Regions from separate parts of the Homo sapiens genome. Here all the other regions are linked to region 3. The links are contacts of gene promoters, found by promoter capture Hi-C in blood cells and fetal thymus (Javierre and others, 2016). All regions are on one chromosome and are shown on one strand. The core of a region is centred on a gene start or on the middle of the fragment in contact, and the rest is flanking DNA. Distances in the headings are between cores, read along the strand shown.

Region 1 (3,966 bases), core at 720-3,219, 290 kb after region 3:
TTGAGAGCACGCAACGGGGGATCTCAGAAAGTAGAGTCCCGGAGAGACACTGGGAATGGGGAGGACCCCCGGGAAGGGGTGTACACGCCGTGGAAGGGAAGGCCGCTGGTGGCTTTAGAACTGGCGGTTCCGTGTACCCGGGTCAAGTGCCCGTGCCGGATGGGAAAGAACCCTGTGACTTTCCACATCTCAGCGAGCTCGGCGGGCTCTGCTTAAGAAGGGCTCTAAGACGGGAAGGGAGGAGCCATCCCCACTGCGACCTTTCCCCTCCTTTCCTGGCTGGCTGGCTGTGGTCTGTCGGGAATGAGGGGGTGGGGAAGCCGGGAAAGCAGAAGGTTGGGGCTGGAGGTCTGCTGGCAGGCAGGCAGACATTTGGAGCCAACTTTCCTGCTCAGCCCGCAGAACTTTTGGTCCTTCGCTATACCAGAGTTTCGTCTGTTTTTTTGCTTGACTGTGTGACCCTTCTCTCACACTGTTATTAAATAGGTCTCAAGCTGCGAAATCACTGCCAGATCCAAACGCCACTACTTTGCCAGGTGAAGGCCTTGGGCGAACCCTTTAACCTTCTTGTAGTTCTGTTTCCTCAGCTGTTCTGTGAGATCATAACAGTCTTAACCTGATATTAAATGAATTAATCCATATAAAGCGCTTAGAACAATGCCTGGCACATAAAAAACATTCTATGAATCTTAACATTATCTGTATCATCAACTACAAAACTCCCAGTGAGGGGTTTTGCTCATTAGCAGCCTAGGCTTGCTGAATGAATGCAGGAATTCTACAATGACCATTTGAGTTCTACTTAGTTTGAGTTCTAAATTTATACTTCACACAGCTGGAAGAAGGGATGGGCACCTCTCCAACAATTCTTTCTCCCCATATTCCCTGCCATTGTCTAAAGGTCATGCCAGTTGGAAATAAGAAGGGTTTGGGTGAGGGCAGCTCTATGCTTTACCATTCTGTCAGCTACAAATGTAGCTACCTGCATCAGGATTTAGTCCTGCCTTCAACACCTTGGCCAGGCTAACTGACCCCTTTGAACTTTAGTTTCCTTATCTGTAAAATGAGGAAAATAATCTGTAAAACAGGGTTGTTGTGAGGGTTGGAAATAATGCCCATAAAGAGTATGTCATATATGCTCAACAAATAGTAGCTATTATTTTGCTAAAAAGTATAAAGCCAGATTCTTGTTCTAAATAAGCTTGTCACCTGGTTGAGTAAACAAGACCTGAATAAGATAAGATAACTAACAACCCAAGGCAGTGTGGGGTAGAGTTTAGAAGTAAGTACATAAGTAGGGTGGTAATGTTTTGCTTGGGGAACTGGGATTTTAACATTCACTATGGTTATTTAAAAAAAAAAAAAAAAAAGAGCTGGGCATGGTGGCTCACACCTGTAATCCCAGCACTTTGAGAGGCTGAGGCGGGCAGATCACCTGAGGTCAGGAGTTCGAGACCAGCCTGACCAACATGGACCAACATTCTCTACTAAAAATACAAAATTAGCCAGGCATGGTGGCGCATGCCTTTAATCCCAACTACTTGGGAGGCCGAGGCAGGAGAATCACCTGAACCTGGCAGGCAGAGGTTGCACTGAGCTGCGATCAGACCATTGCACTCCAGCCTGGGCAACAAGAGGGAAACTCCATCTCAAAAAAAAAAAAAAGAAGAAAGAAAGAGTGGAAACAAAATAAGCATTCTTCAAGTAACTGATACGTGCTGAACATTTTGCTAAATGCATTACATGTATTATTTAATTTTTCTAACGATGCTATGAGGTAGGTATTATTGCCTCTCTTCTTTATTTGTTGTTGTTGTTGAGAAAGGGTCTCACTTTGTTTTCCAGGCTGGAGTACAGTGGCACGATCACTGCTCACTGCAGCCTTGACTTTCTGGGCTCAAGCTATCCTACCACCTCAGCCTCCTAAGTAGCTGGGACTACAGTTACACACCACCACACCCAGCTAATTCTTTCTTTTTTCTTTCTTTGCCACCACCACACCAGCTAATTCTTTTCTTTTCTTTTCCTTTTCTTTCCTTTCTTTCTTTCTTTCTTTTTCTTTCTTTCTTTCTCTTTCTTTCTTTCTTTCTTTTTCTTTCTTTCTCCCTTTCTTCCCTTTCTTTCCTTTCTTTTCTTGCTTTTCTTTCTTTTTTTTTTGTAGAGATGGGGTCTCTCTATGCTGCCCTGACTGGTCTCAAACTCCTGACCTCAAGTGATCCACGTGCCTCAGCCTCACAAAGTGCTGGGATTACAGGTGTGAGCCACCATACCCAGCCTTCTTTATTTGTTAACTATGCTTTTTCTTCCAGAGGAAGAAGAGACTTTCTTCACCTAGTCTTTTACTCATCTTTCATATCTCAATTCAAACATATTTCCTCTGGTCACCCTTGCTGACCCTCGGACCCTGTTCCGGGCTCCAGTGGCATGATAGGCATTTCTTTCCCAGTGTGTTACTTTACCCTTAGTTGTATTAATGTCTGTGTCCTTTCAAAAGCCTGAAAATGTCAGTGAAAGGAGTGTTTGGTCTGATTTTGTTTCCATTCCATCTCCAGCAGCTAGCACCAAATAGTAGGCTTTTGATAAATATTTGTTGACTGAAGGAATAAATGAATGAATATTTTACCCAGCATCTTCAGTGAGTACCCATTGTTTCATCAAGGAAATGTAGATAAGGGCGCCAAGAGAAGCCGTTTTCAGGTGCTACCTCCTCCTTGGAGCTGCAACCAAGGAAAGCTTTTTATAAGCTGCCCTTCCCCCAAAGCCCCTAAAAAGAAGTGATTCTGAAGTCAACCCACACAAGAGTACCATACTAAGAACACAAGTATTTTCACAAATTTGATCTTATCATCAAGTGTTCATTTAAATAACATGTACTTACATTTCTGGTAAGTATAAACTGGTACATTCAGTATGGAAATCAATTTGTCAGTAATTGTTACCCTGACCCCCACTTGTTTTTTAAACACCTCAAGACCATTGAGGTGTTAAAAAAGACCACTGACTACCATTTGGCAATGTCTATAAAAATAAAAGCATACACATGCCCTTTAGCCCAGAATTCCACTTTTAGGATTTATCCTTCCACATGTAGAGAATGGAGTGTTTAAAGGTAGCACTGTTGCAGCACTGTTTGTGATAATGAAAGACTGGAAAAAACAGCCCATCAGTAGAGAACTGGTTAAATAAAAGATGGTGCATTCAGACAGTGAATTACCATAAAGCCAGAAAAAAGAGAGTAAGTTCTGTATATATCGACAAGATCTCCACAATATATTGTTAAATGAAAAGGGTTTATAGTATGTGAGCAGTATGCTACATTTATGTTAAAATGAACATAAAAAATAGAATACAATGAGACACCACCTCACACTCACTAGGATGGCTATAACACAAACAAGCAAAAAAACCCAGAAAAGAACAAATGTTGATGAAAATGTAGAAAAAACAGAACCCTCATACATTGCTGTTAGAATGTAAAATAGTGCAGCTGCTTTAGAATAGTTCCTCAAAAAGTTAAACATAGAGTTACTGTATGATCCAGCAGTTTAGCTCCTAAATATATACCCAAGTGAACCGAAGATGTATGTTCACACACAAACGCTTATACACAAATGTTCATAGCAGCATTATTCATAATAGCCAAAAAAGTAGAAACAACCCAAATGTCCGTCAACTGGCTAAAGGATAAACAAAATGTGATACAATGGAATATTATTCAGCCATAAAAAATGAAGTATTGATACATGCTACAATATGGATGCACCTTGAACACATTATGCTAAGTGAAAGAAACCAGAAACAAAAGGGTACATATCGTATGATTCCATTTATATGAAATGTCAGAATAGGCAAATCCAGGGCTGGGCGTAGTGGCTCCCACCTGTAAGCCCAGCACTTTGAGGATCCCAGCACAGAGACCAAGGTGGGCAGATCACTGGAGGTCAGGAGTTTGAGACCAGCCTGGCC
Region 2 (3,895 bases), core at 200-2,699, 400 kb before region 3:
TTAATTTCACTTTCATATCTAAAAATAATGACTTTTTATATAACTATGATAATGTTATCATTCCTGATAAGTTTAACAATAATTTCCTAATATAATTTTGTGCCCAGTTCATACTTAAATTTCCCCAATTGACCCCAGAATATCTTACAGCTGGTTTGTTCAAACCAGGATTTAATCAAGAACTAGTCATTGCACTTGGTATTATGTGGGGTTCTTTTTGAGAAACCTGACGTAATTAGAACTTCATAAGCAACATAATGTTTCATGAAGAAGGTGGCATTTGAAATCTGAGTCCTCAAGGATATGTCAGAATCGACATGGGTAGAGAAGTGAGGTCACTTTAGGAGCAGAGATCAAAGTGAGCAAATTCAGAGAGACAGAAAGGGGGCAGGTGTGTTTGGCTAGTGGCAAGTAGCCCCATGTATTTGGATCAAAGGGGAGAGAATAAGGTGGGATACAATTAGTAAAATAAATTAGAAACAGATCATGGAGGGCCTTGAGGATTGTTTCCAGTTCCAGTTCACTCTGTAGACAACTTGAGATTTCTAGTGAGCCCCGGTGATAACAACCCATCAGTCCATAATGCCTGTAGGACTCTGCCCGTGTTGCATTAGTATGTGTACCCCTGGCACCTAGCAGAGCATGGGACACAGGATGTATTCAGTGTTGAAAACATGGTGCTCGGCTAGGTGCGGTGGCTCACGCCTGTAATCCTAGCACTTTGGGAGGCTGAGGTAGGTGGATCACCTGAGGTCAGGAGTTCAAGACCAGCCAGACCAACATGGCGAAACCCCGTCTCTACTAAAAATCCAAATCTAGCCAGGTGTGATGGTGTGCCTGTAGTCCCAGCTACTTGGGAGGCTGAGGCAGGAGAATCGCTTGTACCCGGGAGGTGGAGGTTGCAGTGAGCTGAGATCGCGCCACTGCACTCCAGCCTGGGCAACAGAGCAAGACTCTATTTTAAAAGAAAAGAAAAAAAAAAAAAAGAAAACATGGTGCTGTTGAAGGATTTTTAGTTGGAGACTGACGTGTCAAAATCTCCTTTGGGAAGATTTAAAAAATTAGGTGGTAATGATGGTGACTAGAATAAGAATTTAGAGAAGAGAACTAGCAGAATGGGTTGCAGTAATTGAAGAGGAGGTGAGGCTTGGTTTCCCCAGATGGGGACACAGCCTAAGCAAAGATGAGCGGTTGGGAATGAGTTCAGGGTGGCATAATGACTACAGAGGAGAAAAAGCTTTGTGGTGTTTTGAGAAATAAGACTCCAAAAGATAGGGTCACGATAGTTTAGGGGGTCTAATATTGGTCATTTGCCTCTGTTGTTACTTAATAAATGACCTCTGATCATATTCAAATTCAAGATTTGGGGTTTTAAAAATTGTTTCTACTTATTTTTTTTTCATATAAGAATCACTTTTAGTTCAATAAGAAAGACAAAATTAGATAAGAGTATTCTGAGTCTAAAAAGAATTAATAACTCAGGAGAGCCTAAACTAAGGGAATATTAAATCAGAAGTATATTGGATTGTGTTTACTTCAAATGTATTAGACAATTAGAATACGACACTGAGCACAATTGCATATGTGAAATGGGACTGTGATTGGCAGTGCTCAAAAAAGGAAGGGGGTAGGGATAGCATGACACATTTAGAGGAAGCTTAGCAAGTTTAGTTAAAATAAACTTAATAAAGAAAGCGGAACATTTGCTTCAACCTCACAGGAAATTGTGTGCTCTTATTGAAGCTTGACAGTTTGTTTCCTCTTCAAAAAGAGTTTGGACCCTTCTTGATGATAATCAAGTTAAGTTGGTAGGTGTGGGGATTGGTGTTAAACTAAAAAGGAAAAAAAAAAACTAGTTACATTTACCTTGCTGTCCAGTAAATGATTCAAACTTGTTTGAATTATTTATTGGTGGTTCTTAAGATTTTCTGAGCTCAGGGATTGTTTGGTGAGTTTGTTGAAAGAGCAGATTTCCAGGCCCTAGCCCCAGTGATTCTGATTCTCGGTTGAGAGGTTAGGTTGAGCAAACAAGCACACTGAAAATTTACCTTCTCTAACAAGCAGCCTGTGTAATTCTGATGTGGATCATCTATGGACAATACTTTTGAAAAACATCTCTAAAGGATCTAGTATCTTTCCTTAGGTAAGCATAGGGCTTGCACAATTAAAAAATAAGTTCTAGTTTAAATTTTTTTTTGTTTTGCTTTATTTTGCTTTTTTGAGACAGGTCTCACTCTGTCGCCCTGCCTGGAGTGCAGTGGCACAATCTTGACTCACTACAACCTCTTCCTTCCAGGCTCAAGCAATCCTCCTGCCTCAGCCTCCTAAGTAGCTGGGACTACAGGCACATACCACCATGCCCAGCTGAATATATATATATGTATATATACACACACATATATATACACACACATATATAAATATACCATATATATAACACATATATAATATAAAAATATATATTATATATATATATTTTTTTGGGGGGGTGGGGGGGTAGAGATGGAGTTTTGCCATGTTGCCCAGGCTGGTCTTGAACTCCTGGGCTCAAGCAATCGGCACCCTCTAAGGCTCCCAAAGTGCTGGGATTACAGGTGTGAGCCACTGCACCTGGCCAATCTTTTTTTTTTTTTTTCTTTTTTAAAAAAAGCTTGTTAGGACTATGTTCAGCTGCAAGTAACAGAAAAACAACCAACCATGGCTTAAACAAGTTTTGTTTTGTTTTTATTTGCTTTTTGTCTCAGGCAACAAGAAGTCTGGGGACAGACTGTTCAGGGCTGATCCTTTGCACTCAAAGACTTACTAAAGTCCTCAAGGAGCCAGGAGCCAGGCTCCTTCTATTTTTCTGCTACCCCATCTTAGGGAGCAAACTTCATTCTCATGGTCACAAGGTAGCTGCTGCACATCCAAACATCACACTCACATTCCAGGCAAGGAAAGAGAGAAGCAAAAGTTACACGCCAGACACATTTGTCCCTTTTACAAAATATTCACAGATGCTTTACCAGTAACTTGTGCTAATATCTCATTGGCTAGAACTGGGCCACATCATCACCTCTGAGTAAATATTGCTAACTGAAGGTACTACTCCCCTGAAGGAAAAAAAAGTGGGGTTCTATTAAGAAAGAAGGGCAGAAATGATATGAGTAGGAAACTAGAATGTCTGCCCCAAATTGTTTATTTTATTTTATTTATTTTTTTGAGATGGAGTCTCTCTCTGTTGCCCAGGCTGGAGTGCAGTGGAACGATCTGGGCTCACTGCAACCTCTGCCTCCCGGGTTCAAGTGATTCTCCTGCCTCAGCCTCCCTAGTAGCTGGGACTACAGGCGTGCGACATCACGCCTGACTAATTTTTGTATTTTTAGTAGAGACGGAGTTTCACCACATTAGCCAGGCTGGTCTCGAACTCCTGACCTCAGGCAATCCACTTGCCTCGGCCTCCCAAAGTGCTGGGATTACAGGTGTGAGCCACCACACCCGGCCCACAAAGTGTTTATTATATGTTAAAATGTCTATCAGAATATCTGTATGCATTATTTCAGATGCTTGTGTGAGCCTAATGTGTAAGTTAAGGTCCACAGAATTGGTTATAAATTCATTTAATAAATATGTATTTCTTGGCAAAAGCACACAACGATGAAGGAGCCACTGTCAGTACCCTTGAGAAGCTCACGATCTAACTGGGGAGTTAGACATGTGTATAACTGTAATGGAAGTTTTGGATGGTCTACCATATCCCTATGTACCCATAACTGCTCCATCCCCATCCATAGATGTGGTGGCTATTTTGTACCATGTGATCCTGCCCACCCACCATCCACTCCCTGAAGATAAGTCCTGATCTAAACTGGGCCAATGAATTCCTTCCCTCTCAAAACACAGAGATACTCACTCA
Region 3 (4,034 bases), core at 928-3,427:
TATAAAACTCGTCTGAACCACTCAAAAACAATGACCATAGGTTACCTTAAGTTGTCTCCTTAGCTCCCCTTTAGAATCGACATTTCTGGAAGAATGTCTACATATCATTCTAATACAAATTATTACCCCTATATTGTCCCTAATACATTGTCTTGCACTTTTTTGATACCAATACATTTTACTGGATTAATACATCTTACTGAATTAATTGGGCGGTACTTGGCAGCAATGTGGTTCCTGCCTGCCTGTGTTCTCCAACTTCCAATTCCGTTTACTGGATCTGGCAATCAGCCAGGAACAGGCAAAAGTGTTATTTCAGCTGTCTTAACTCTAATACATAAATTACTGCATCAGCAACATCCATACTTAAGAGTTCAGAGAGTGAGAATCTAGGGCCTTGTGGCCTAGCTAGCATTTCCAGTGGCTATCCTTGGCTACACCTCTGTCCTTTCAATATCCCTGGTATACCTACGTTACAGAAAATCTGTGTTAACACCAATGTACTAGGGTGTGGTGTTATATACCTCTAGTCTCAGCTACTTGGGAGGCTGAGGCAGGAGGACTGCTTGAGCATGGGAGTTCAAGGCTCCACCTGGTCAACATACTGAGACCCTCAACTCTAAAATAAATAAATTTTAAAAAATAACACCAATATATAGATCCCAATACTGCTCTAATGGATATTAAGTGCTATCAATAAGTACTTCTTGACACATCACTGGATGAATGAAAACAAACAATGATTACATTGAGAGTGACAATGAGTTGGTTTCAAAGCTATATTGAGTACTATTCACTCAGGCATACTCAATACATTTTTGTGAGCTCATGGCTTTCCTACTTGTGATTCTCAAAAGAATCCTATTGGAACCCCCCCACCCCCCAATCACAGTAAAACCTCAGATTAGGTCTTGGCAAACTCATTTTCTTGACAAATACAACTTAGAGGTTATATCTGGTCCCTCATTTGGATTATACTATATAAATTCTTCAGTGATTACTGTCGTTTGGTATTTGGTTAATTAAATCTACTGAGTGAGGTCAAACTTGCATTTGTCTTGTGTCAAGTTCCATTCTATGGCAGACTAATTTAACAGAGATTCCAAGGTTCTCTGCCTCCAAGCTGAATAAGCTACTAGAACAAAAAACAACTAGAAGCCACCTTATTCCCAATTCATTAACGTTGACTTCATGGTCCACACCAGAAAATGAACGCAACTCAATTCTCGAAGACACTATTCTAGAATTTTATACACTTAGGAATTCAGATCACAGGCTCAAAAGTTTTAGCAGGAGACCCACGGAGCTTGGGCCTTGATGCAAAAGCAGCTTTTGAAACTGCAAGCCACTCTACGCTTAATCGCGGCAGCTATAGGGAATTAAGTTTATTTCTGACCGCAGCATGCTAAAAATCAGTAGGATATGGGGCTAGAAGCAACAAAAAACGTAACAAAAATTAATTCCCCAATAAAGCTTTAAAAACTATTTTCCGTCGCTAACTGAAGTACGTAGCCAAATATGGAAGCTCTAAACATTCAGCTTTTCTTTAAAATCATAGATATCACCTAGTGTCGTCACTCGTTCTCTCCCCCCTTGTTTCTGCACCCTTTAGGTGAGTGAACACGACCTTGGCAGATGCACCCTACTGTCGGGATGTGGCCTTGGGGCGGAGCTGGCAGATACAAGCAGGATGGTGAGTGGAGGCGGCAAGGAACTCTTACAATAACACTATCCAAATGCCCTCCGACCTTCCGGAGGCAAAAAATGACCCTCTGGTGCCAGAGACTCGGTGAGTGGCGTGACCTAGAGATGGAGGACCAGGACGCAGCAAACCAGGCACAGAACAGTACCCAACGGGACAGAGTTCCACCGGACCAGCCCCCTTCCCAGAGCGCGCGGTAAGACGGGCGGCGGCCTCCATCCCAGGCTGCACACAGAGGGTCCCGGGATCTCCAGCAGCATCAGGCCTGGGACCCGGGCGCCAGCAGAGACAGCGGCACCGAGTGAGGCAGTCCCCTGCCGCGCCAAGAACAAGACCGGGGACAGAAAGAAAGCGAATAAAGATGAGGCAGTGGTGAAGGGGCTGGGCATCACCGTACTTACCTTTCCTCGTAGCCCCCACAGCACAGGATGCCGTGGCCGCCGCTCACCCACCGGCTCAGCTCACGCGCGCAAGCACCGCCCAACCGGAAGCGGGTCCGCACCCCGCCCTCATCCGCCTCGCCGGCGGCCTCCCGACCAATCATCAGCAAACCCGCCGCTGTCGCATAGCGTCCCCGAGTAGCCATTGGTCTAACAATCGCATAGCCGGGATTGGCTGGAAAGCGCCACGTCCCCGGGACCGCGCCGAGTTGCGTGGAGCGGATTCCCGCCCAACTCTCGTCCCCGGGATTGTTGGGACGGCGGGCTCCAGCCCCAGCCCCAGCCCCAGCCCCGTACTGCGGGTGGCGTGGGCGCGGCCGTGTGGCCGCCACGTCCCCATTCACAGCTCATGACTCTGCTTCCACAGGGCTTCTTAGACTATCCTGCTAGTTATCTTCATTCCCACAAGACCACCAGGGCGGAATTAATCCGACTGAATCAGTCACCAACTTTATTGAACAATCCCAACTTTTTCTTTCCCTTCAGCGCTGCGCCCTGCGCTATCTACAGGAGGCTCTTCAGTCTTTGGCACCAGTGTATCTTTTAGCTCCATCTCCCAACACTCCCCCTCATCTTGCGCTCTGGGCACCATCATCTGTTTCCTAACAACCGGTCCTTTTTCATCTCTTAAGATTTTTGATCAAGAGGCTTCCTCTGCCAGGAATAAGTGCGTTTTCCTGATTTTCTGCCTTGCCAATAGAAGTCCCAGTTCAGATGTTAGCTCTAGAAGCCTTCCCTGACCTCACTAAGCATAATTCTTACCTTATTTACCATCATAGCTGTTTATAGCTTCAGTACACTTTGCCAAATTCTGCTATAAAATGTAGCTTATCCATCTGTCCTCTTCTAGAGTAAGCTCCTGGGTAGGTATCTGTCTATTCATCTTTATATCTGCAACTCTGAGCTTACTGCCCAGCTCAGTAATGTTAAGTGAAGGGAATGGGCCGAACCCGTTGCATGTCCCTGAAAATTTAATTTCATGTCATGAAATTAAAACAAATATCAAATAAAGGCTACTATAGCTTCAACACAAATGGAATGTAAACCTGTGGCATTCTTAGCACATAAAGCCTCTGTAGTTTAAAATCAAATTGAGACAAGTTGTAAACTCATGAAACAGTTAAGCTCATGAAAGCAAGCTAGTTACTGTCAACGTGAAAGGTTTACAACTAATCCTTCTGGCATTCAAAGGAGTGTCAGTGACCCTTGGTGGTAGTCAGGGAAGGCTTCAGAGGAAGATATGACTAAGGCTGGACTAAGGAAGTCCCAAATGGACTATTCAGCAAGAAGAGTAATAGGAATAAGGACAAGTGGAGGGCAGAGTGGGAGGTAAATTCTCAGGCCAGGTAGCAAATGAGGAAGGTTAAAAAAAGGGGTGGGGGGAAACAATGAAAGAAAAGCATGGATAGTAAGTTTGGAGAGGTAATGGAAGATCTTGTCAATTTGAGGAACCTGAACTGAAGACAGTGGGAACTGTGGGTCTTCCTGGGAAAGTTTCTAAGCTTGTGCCTACAGGGAAGCCATCTAATGGGTATTAACAATAAAACAGGCTACCTCAGGAGGCATTATTTCGAAAACAGTTTTTAAAATACCTCCTTAAGGATCACTTGAGGCCAGGAGTTTGAGACCAGCCTGGGCAAAATAACGAGACCCTTCCTCCCCCTATCTCTACAAAAAAACAAAAACTAAAAATTAGCTGGGTGTGGTGGCACACACATGTAGTTCAAGCTAGTTGCTTGAGCCCAGGAGGTTGAGGCTGCAATGAACTATGACTGTACCACTTCACTCCAGCCTGGGCAACAGAGCAAGACCCTTTCTCTTAAAAAATAAAAATAACAACTCCTTAAGGTCAGGCACTGTGTTATGTGCTGGTGAACCCAAAGTAAACAGGA

Evidence for each region. Contacts are between HindIII fragments. The CHiCAGO score rates a contact against its expected background, and 5 or more counts as called.
Region 1: a fragment that was not itself captured here is called in contact with the fragment with the promoter of CALU in region 3 in 1 of 17 cell types (fetal thymus); the score reaches 5.2 in fetal thymus.
Region 2: a contact is called between a fragment that was not itself captured here and the fragment with the promoter of CALU in region 3, in 1 of 17 cell types (M1 macrophages). The highest score is 5.2, in M1 macrophages.

The regions. Positions count from the first base shown.
Region 1 is chr7:128,450,894-128,454,859 of GRCh38, reverse strand. No RefSeq gene overlaps it. Among named protein-coding and RNA genes, the nearest start is that of HILPDA, 3.0 kb to the left of the region's middle. RefSeq lists an enhancer at 248-954. The HindIII fragment of the contact is 1,532 bases long and covers 1,204-2,735 here.
Region 2 is chr7:129,135,209-129,139,103 of GRCh38, reverse strand. No RefSeq gene overlaps it. Among named protein-coding and RNA genes, the nearest start is that of TSPAN33, 7.6 kb to the left of the region's middle. RefSeq lists an enhancer at 1,827-1,876. The HindIII fragment of the contact is 420 bases long and covers 1,240-1,659 here.
Region 3 is chr7:128,737,502-128,741,535 of GRCh38, reverse strand. It overlaps CALU (calumenin), which reads right to left and starts at 2,177. Exons shown (of 7, transcript NM_001219.5): 1 at 2,104-2,177. RefSeq lists an enhancer at 1,841-1,940 and silencers at 2,221-2,360, 2,431-2,570. The HindIII fragment of the contact is 2,171 bases long and covers 1,476-3,646 here.